Regions from separate parts of the Homo sapiens genome. Here region 1 is linked to region 2. The links are contacts of gene promoters, found by promoter capture Hi-C in blood cells and fetal thymus (Javierre and others, 2016). All regions are on one chromosome and are shown on one strand. The core of a region is centred on a gene start or on the middle of the fragment in contact, and the rest is flanking DNA. Distances in the headings are between cores, read along the strand shown. Region 1 overlaps FNBP1 (formin binding protein 1). Region 2 holds the start of GPR107 (G protein-coupled receptor 107).

Region 1 (4,341 bases), core at 1,583-4,082, 92 kb after region 2:
CTCAAAAGCTTTGCCATTGTCGTTTTTCTTAAAGTTAATGCTTGCTTATTTTAGATTCTCTGTGATTTTTTTTTTTTTTTAATCTCAGCCACCTCTGTTCACTGGGAAATTTCTTTAAAAAATTTGAAGGGTGATTTGATCTGTGTAGACTTTTATTTCAACTAAAAAGTTGAAATAAGTAAGTGTAGCTGTCACCCCAGAAACTATTAGGGTTTGGGTTTTTTTGTTTGTTTGTTTGTTTTAGCTTATTATTATGTTTTAAAAGAAACTAAAAGCATCTTATGACAGCAGAAAGTAAGAAGCATTTCTCTGGGTCTCTAGAGATGGCATTTCCTGTCTCTTTTCTGATAGGAGAGAAAGGAGCTGTGATGACTTCATTCTATGGCTCCAAAAGAAGCACTTTTTATCTTTGTCCGGAGAACAATTCCTCCTTCTTTAGTGCTTGCAGGCACACTTTTTAGACACACACTTGCTCACTGTCCAGAAAAGAAATGTTCGGCCATTGTTGGTAAACAACAAATACATCTGGCAAAGCTGGTTTATTTGTTTAACTTTGTAACTGTTAAAATAGCTTTTCCGGTGAAAGCAGCGAAGATAGAGCTAGAAACAAACCCCAGCTATTCAGGTCATGGTAGGCACAGAGCACAAAGGAGGGCTTTTGTTCCCTCCCTTAATTTCCTGAAGGATCCCCCAGCACGGATAGTTTTTCGTATGTTATGGCCAAATAAATGATAGAGGGACAGGTACTGTGAAAAAGGCTGGGGCTGGGCATGGTGGCTCATGCCTGTAATCCCAGCACTTTCGGAGTCTGAGGCAGGCATATCACTTGAGGTCAGGGGTTCGAGGATAGCCTGGCCAACATGGTGAAACCCTGTCTCTACTAAAAACACAAAAATTAGCCGGGCGTGGTGGCGCATGCCTGTAGTCCCAGCTACTCAGGAGGCTGAGGCAGGAGAATTGCTTGAACCCAGGAGGCGGAAGTTGCAGTGAGCCGAGATTGTGCCACTGCACTCCAGCATGGGTGACAGAGACTTGTTTTTTTAAAAAAAAAAAAAAAAAAGGCTGGAAGGAAGGAAGATGGGCATCACCCACAATCTCCTAAGCCCCATGAAATGGTACGATGATAATTGCAGTTTTCAGGTAGTGGTTTAATAATGTGGGGAGAGGTGTGGCTGAGCAGTCTTCATGAGAGATAACTTACCAGTAAATTCAAGGTGCACACCGTGCCTTAAACACAAATGCATATTTATTATATATTTACACTAAGGAGTGGCAAGGGAACCACTCTATGGATTTTTCAATCAAAATCATCCCTCGTGTTTTTAAAATAAGACTTTTTTTTTTAAGACTCTTGTCTTCAGAGATTTATTTTATATGAAAGTCAGGTGACATGTCCCAGGCAATGCCTGTCATTGTCTGCTGGGCTTCTGTGCATTTCCTGTCTCCACCCACAGCATTGCCCCAAGCTGGAGGGAGCTTTCACTTTGTTAAAACATTCACTTTCAGAGGTGCTGGAGAGATAGATCGTCAACCTCGAGTACAGCTCTGAATTGGTGCTGGGGTTTTCTCTTTTTGTTCCTGTCTTTGAATCTCAAAGTAAAACTTTTGGGAGCGGCTGCATCTCTTCAGCAAACTGCGTAACTCGGTGCTCCGGCTTAGGAAATGGGATCTTTCTCTTCGCAGAGAAGTCACCCGATAAAGACTTTCAGGACCAGAGGTGCCTTCCAAAAAGGGCACAGTTGAGCCCAGATGGTTTGAAATTGACGCTCTGGTCTCTGGGGGGTCCTCCCTGAAAGCGTGGCTTTCAGAAAACCCGCTTGTATTTTCTATACGTTCTCCACTAAGGTCCAGAGTTTCCCTAACCCTGTCCTTGGCTCTACTTCTTAATTCTCCCACAGCCTGGATCCCTTCTTTTCTGTTCTATCCTTATGTCCATTACAAGAGCTGAAAAACGAAGCCCCAAGGGGCTCCCCCTGGGTTTGCAGAGACCAAAAAATTGCTGGATAGATAAAACTGACTGCAAAGAGGCGCTTAAAACAGTGAAACTCGACCTCAAAAGAGAGACAAGAAAACATTCCCTTATAAAGGAGCACTGTTCTAAATCTGATGTTGTCTCTGCCTTCCCAGCCTTTCCAGTTGTCAGCTCCATTTTCTGACTCCGCTAAATCCTAGGTTCTGACGAGGTACGGGAAAAGCTCCGAGGCTCTACCTAGTGGACCTCTTTGTTTTTATCCTTCCTTCACCTGACCTTCTCTGCAGTGCACCCCTAACACCAATGCTTACCTTGTGAGCCAGAAAACAGACAGCACATTCAAACTCAGTAATTGAAGGAAGGTCGGTTATTAAAAGGAGCATTTACAACGTGGCGGATAGAGTTTAGGAAAAGCAGTGAGGATGGTTCAGTACCCTGGAGCAAGTCACAGTGGGGAGCTGATGTTGCCCCCAGGCCTCACAGGGCTGGAGGAGCCTTCCAGGAATTTCACAGATGAGGAACTTCTGAGGTTAGCTGCATGCGGGGCACTGCCTGACTGGAGCTGTGCCCTTTGGTCCAAGGACCCAGCCAACCTGTATCATCTCAGTGAGGAGAAGCTGCAGGTACAGTTTCCTGCCCTCTGATCACTCAGAACATCCTTGTGGCAAATCTCATCAGAACCAGAGGGCAAGGGTTCATGAGATCCCTGCATGTCAGTCTCTGGGGACCCAGACAGGGTGGAGAATGCACCTGGGAAATTTGCAGGACATTGACCAAGTCAGCGATGGTACAGTGTGGAAGGATACTAAAAGATTTAGGGGCCGGGCACGGTGGCTCACGCCTGTAATCCCAGCACTTTGGGAGGCCGAGGCAAGCGGATCACTTGAGGCCGGGAGTTCGAGACCAGCCTGGCCAACATGGTGAAACCCTGTCTCTACTAAAAATACAAAAAATTAGCTGGGCGTGGTGGGTCGCACCTGTATTCCCAGCTACCAGGGAGGCTGAGGCAGGAGAATCACTTGAACCCGGGAGGCAGAGGTCACAGGGAGGCAGAGGTCTCAGTGAACCGAGATCACGCCACTGTCCTCCAGCCTGGGCAACGGAACAAGACTCCGTCTCAAAAAATAAAATATATAAAGGATTTAGGGAACTGGTGATTTTAGGTCACTGAACAAAAAAAAGACACCATTCTCTTAACATTTCTGCATATTTCTAGCACTTCCTTCCTTGGGATCTTTGTCTTCTTTGGTCTCCTGGCTTTAACTATCCACTTTATACTGAAGACTCCCAAACTGGTCTTTAGTACAGACCGCTCCCTAAGCTCAGATCCACAAGTCCAAGTACATATTAGTCTCTCTACTTGTTTGTTTGTTTGTTTTTCGGGGGTTTTTTTGAGATGGAGTCTCTATCTGTCACCCAGGCTGGAGTACAATGGTACTATCTCGGCTCACCGCAACCTCCGCCTCCCAGTTCAAGTGATTCTCCTGCCTCAGCCTCCCGAGTAGCTGGGATTACAGGCATGCGCCACCATGCCTGGCTACTTTTTGTATTTTTAGTAGAGACGGGGTTTCACCATGTTGCCCAGGCTGGTCTAGAACTCCTGACCTTTGGTGGTTCGCCCACCTTGGCCTCCCAAAGTGATGGGATTACAGGCATGAGCCACCACGCTCGGCTAGTCTCTCTACTTGGGAGTCTCATAGAAATATCAGCCTTAACACATGTGAAACTACGTGTATGATCTTCCTCCTCAGACCCACTTCTCTCAGTCTTCCTTCTCCTAAAGCTCAGACTGACAACCTCGGAGTCACCCTGGGCAGCTCATTATTGCACATCTCATCTTATCTCCCAGAAAATCCTGGAAGTTTGGGTGATCAAAAGGTGCCCAAAACCTGACCCCTCTCACCACCTGCACTGCTCGCTACCTACAACCTGTCCAAGTTGCAGTAATCTCCAGGATTGTTACAAAAGCCTCCCACCATCTGAAATCTTTCCTTCACAACATCTTAGAGTTACTCATCGACTCTGGTTCATTCAGGCAAAAAAGCCTACAAGACCCTATACAACTCCCTCTTTCTTCTCTGACCTCATATGATATTCTCCCCGAGGCTCCTCCAGATCTGGCCGCCAGGTTAACACCACACCAGAGCCTGCCTCAGGGCCTTTGCAGATGGCCAGGAGGGAAATTTATCTTTATATTTAAAATAATCTAATAATGAAAACAGCCATGCACACAAAACACTCAAAACTCTTACTCAAGTGTTTATAGCAGCAATTTTCTTTTTCTTTTTCTTTTTCTTTTTCTTTTTTTTTTTTTTTTTTTTGAGATGGAGTCTTGATCTGTCACCCAGGCTGGAGTACAGCAGCGCGAT
Region 2 (4,312 bases), core at 1,587-4,086:
TTGTTAGCCAGGATGGTCTCAATCTCCTGACCCTGTGATCCGCCCATCTCGGCCTCCCAAAGTGCTGGGATTACAGGCGTGAGCCACTGCGCCCAGCCAAATTTGTGAACTTTCTTAAAACATTATGAGATTTTTTTGCAATTTTTTAAAGCTTATCAGCTATGGTTACTGTTAGTCTATTTTAGGTGTGACCCAAAACAACTTTTCATCTTCCAATGTGGCCCTGGGAAGCCAAAAGATTGGACACCCCTGACTTCGGATGTTTATTTTATTTTATTTATTTATTTATTTTGAGACGGAGTCTTGCTCTGTCGCCCAGGCTGGAGTACAGGGGCTCAATCTTGGCTCACTGCAACTTCCTACTCCTGGGTCCAAGCGATTCTCCTGCCTCAGCCCCGAGTAGCTGGGATTACAGGTACCTGCCACCACGCCTGGCTAATTTTTGTATTTTTAGTAGAGATGTGATTTCACAATGTTGGCCAGGCTGGTCTCAAACTCCTGACCTCAAGTGATCCACCCACCTCAGCCTCTGAAAGTGCTGGGATTACAGGCGTGAGCCACCGTGCCCGGCCAAGTTTTGTCTACATTTCTACATGCACTTTTCTGGAGAGAGGTTCTATAGCTCTCAACAGATTCTCAAAGAGTCAAAATTCACTTGCCCCACCCCCACCCCTGTGATTGAACCATTTTAATCAGGATAATTTTTACCTACAAACAACAAAAGTTGTTACCAAAAAGTAAGGTTGTATGGATCCAGTCAGGCTTGCATTTATTTATTTATTTATTTATTTATTTGAGACAGAGTATAGTTCTTTCGCCCCGACTGGAGTGCAGTGGCACAATGATCTCTGCTCACTGCAATCTCAGCCTCCCGGGTTCAAGCAATTATCCTGTCTCAGCCTCCCAAGTAGCTGGGACTACAGGCATGTGCCACCATGCCCGTCTAATATTTGTATTTTTAGTAGAGAGGGGTTTTGCCATGTTGGCCAGGCTGGTCTCGAACTCCTGACCTCAGGTGATCCGCCCACCTCGGCCTCCCAAAGTGCTAGGATTATAGGTGTGAGCCACCGTGCCCAGTCAAGCCAGGCTTTTAATTTCATTCTGTATTCTTTAAATTCTACATTAACAAAATACAATGCTTCATAGTTTGCTAAAACAATGTGTTTTTACAAGACAAACTTTCTACAGTTCCACTTCTTTTTTTTTTTTTTTTTGAGACGGAGTCTCGCGCTGTTGCCCAGGCTGGAGTGCAGTGGCGGGATCTTGGCTCACTGCAAGCTCCGCCTCCCGGGTTCACGCCATTCTCCTGCCTCAGTCTCCCGAGTAGCTGGGACTACAAGCGCCTCCCAGGTTCACGCCATTCTCCTGCCTTAGCCTCCCGAGTAGCTGGGACTGCAGGCGCCTGCCACCACGCCTGGCTAATTTTTTTTTTATTTTTAGTAGAGATAGGGTTTCACCGTGCTAGCCAGGATGGTCTCGATCTCCTCACCTCGTGATCTGCCTGCCTCGGCCTCCCAAAGTGCTAGGATTACAGGCGTGAGCCACCGCGCCCCGCCTACAGTTCCACTTCTTAGAAGACTGTATGGTATGAAAATAATGTACAAGAGTTTGGGTCATAACAATTTACTTTTCTATGTCTCTAATTTTGTTTATATGTTTTGAGAAAGGGTCTTGCTCTGTTCCTCAGGCTGGAATGCAATGAGTAATCACGGCTCACTGCAGTCTCAACCTCCTAGGCTCAAGTGATCCTCCAGCCTCAGCCTCCCCAGAAGCTGCAGGCGTTTGCCACCACACCTGGTTAATTTTTAATTTTTTGTAGAGACAGGTTTGGGGAGGGGGTCCTTAGCACGTTGACTAGGCTGGTCTCGAACTCCTGGGCTCAAACAATCCTCCTGCATAGGCCTCCCAGTGTTGGGATTACAGGCATGAGCCACAGCACCTGGACAATTTCCCAGATATAGTAAACTGCTGAACCACCTTAGGGTGCGTTTCAGCCTTAGAGGTCTTTTCTCTGCTAGTTACAAAGCAAGATCCAGAGTATCATTCTAGGTTTATCAAAAATCTCTCTTCCCTAGACAATGGCTGGATAGAGGAAGAAAAAGCAGGCCCTTTGATTAGAGACACACCTTAATGCTGGCTTTACATTCTCAGTCACGTGTTTTAAGCAAGATTTGAAATTCCTTCTCTAGAGTCTCGCTCCAGAGAGCGCCCTAAACCGAAATGGGAAACTGAGGCTAAGGTTCCAAGTACCTTCAAACCGCCGGTACAGTACAAGGGCACAGAAGAGCGGAGACCGCGGACAAGGAAAGCCAGCATAAAAGCTGGAGGGGAGAAAGAAGAAAGGCGATCGGGCTGCCCTGAGTGAGGAATTCAGGGAAGCCAGCAGGGATTTAAGAGCAGCCTCCCGAGTCCGTGGGGGCAACGCCACAGTTCAGCCCCTTCCCCTCCCTCAGCTCGAGTCTTCCCGCCCCGTGCCGGTCAGCCCGAAGACCCCAGCGCCGCCCAGACCCGCCTTCCCCACAGACCCCGCCACCTGTCAGTGAAAGGCCGCAGCCAGGGGCAAAGAGGTGGTCCAGTGGCTCAGAGGTCCCCAATGGGCCAAAGTTGCCCTAAAACCCGGGGAGTGGCCTCGGCCTCCGCCCCCCGGCCCGGCCTTGCCAAGCTTTACCTTGAGTGCCAGGTGATGGACGCGGCCCAGGCCAGGCTCGGCCAGCAACTGCAGCAAACCCAGCATTGGGAGCAGCCGGAGGCCCGCGGCCAGCCTAGGACCGCGGGAGGCGGGGGAGCCGACGGGCGCCAGAGCGGCCATGTTTGTTCCAGCATCACCAGCCGCTTCCTCTCCCGCCCACGTCCGGGGTGAAAGGGCGCAGCCGCCGGAAGGGCCCGGGGAGCGGGGCTCGGCGGCTAGCTCCGCTGACCCTGTGGTCGTTTTCCTGGAGATTGCGACCTAGGAAGTCGTCGAGGAGCCTGTGCTGCCCACCTCGGGGCCCTTCGATCGGCCGCTCCTGTGCAGACTTTCAGTTAGAGATGAAGCCAACCTATTGGCGGTTGCCATAACAACGGTGGCCGAACCAGACCAGCCCGGGCCGCACCTCCGCCTCGCTGAGCTTTGGAAGCGACCTTGGGCTCCGGGGACCCCTGATCTCAGGGTCGGGGGATAAGCTGTGTCAGCCGCACGGTGTCGGGCCACTGATTGAACTGATTTCACTGAGCGTTGACTCGGAGGAAAATATCTAAAAATTCCCGGCTCGCCGTAGGGGTCCTGTGGTTTTCTAGGCGCTTCACACTCAAATACAAGCGAAATGGTTGCAATAATACGATTGATTGAGCCCTTATGAGGCAATTTGTTAGGCCTTTTGTTGTATTTAATTTTTGGAACAATTTGATGAGCTAGGAGGTACGTATTATCATTATTCCTACTTTACAGGTAAGCAAACTGAGGCTCTGAGAAATAAGTCATTTGCTCCAGGTTGAGCTGGGAATCACACGGAAGCTCTTAACTCCTGTGTTCTGTTGCCTCATGCTATTTCATCCAACCCCAAGTCTGGGTCTTAACATTTTTCTCTTAATTCTGTATGGAAACTTTCTTTGCTTCTTTCAGAAATTATAGGAACTTCTTTTTTTTGAGACGGAGTCTAGCTCTTGTCACCCAGGCTGGAGTGCAATGGCACGATCTCAGCTCACTGCAACCTCCGCCTTCTGGGTTCAAGCGATTCTCCTGCCTCAGCCTCTGGAGTAACTAGAATTACAGGCCTGCGCCACCACGCCCGGCTAATTTTTGTATTTTTAGTAGACACGGGGTTTCTCCCATGTTGGCCAGGCTGGTCTCGAACTCCTGACCTCAAGTTATCCTCCCGCCTCGGCCTCCCAAAGTGCTGGGATTACAGGCGTGAGTCACTGCGCCCAACCTGCTTTGGAGTACTTTTTATCTTTTAAAGTTAAGTGGCATCTTTGAAAATCTCTGGTTTTAAATTTGAATATAATACTGTACTAAAAACGAAATGAGGCCTGGCAGGGTGGTGATTCGCGCCTGAATCCCAGCACTTTGGAACGCCGAGGCGGGCGGATCACTTGAAAGTCAGTTGTTCGGGACCAGCCTGGGCAACATGGCAAAACCTCGTCTCTACTAAAAATACAAAAATTAGCGGGGCATCACGGCCGCGCGCCTGTAGTCCCAGCTACTGGGGAGGCTGAGGCAGGAGAAGCACTTGAACCTGGGAGGCAGAGGTTTCAGTAAGCCAAGATCATGCCACTGCACTCCAGCCTGGGTGACAGAGTGAGACTCTGTCTCAATAAAAAAAAAATCAGGTAA

What was found. Contacts are between HindIII fragments. The CHiCAGO score rates a contact against its expected background, and 5 or more counts as called.
Region 1: a fragment that was not itself captured here is called in contact with the fragment with the promoter of GPR107 in region 2 in 8 of 17 cell types (activated CD4 T cells, total CD8 T cells, total B cells and 5 more); the score reaches 8.1 in activated CD4 T cells.

What each region holds. Positions count from the first base shown.
Region 1 is chr9:129,960,336-129,964,676 of GRCh38, reverse strand. The region is part of intron 4 of FNBP1 (formin binding protein 1); the gene reads left to right. Among named protein-coding and RNA genes, the nearest start is that of FNBP1, 81 kb to the left of the region's middle. The HindIII fragment of the contact is 5,643 bases long and covers 11-4,341 here.
Region 2 is chr9:130,052,430-130,056,741 of GRCh38, reverse strand. It overlaps GPR107 (G protein-coupled receptor 107), which reads right to left and starts at 2,836. Exons shown (of 18, transcript NM_020960.5): 1 at 2,669-2,836. The coding sequence starts at 2,809. It also overlaps a transcript of FNBP1 not described here. RefSeq lists a silencer at 2,539-2,848. The HindIII fragment of the contact is 2,204 bases long and covers 2,665-4,312 here.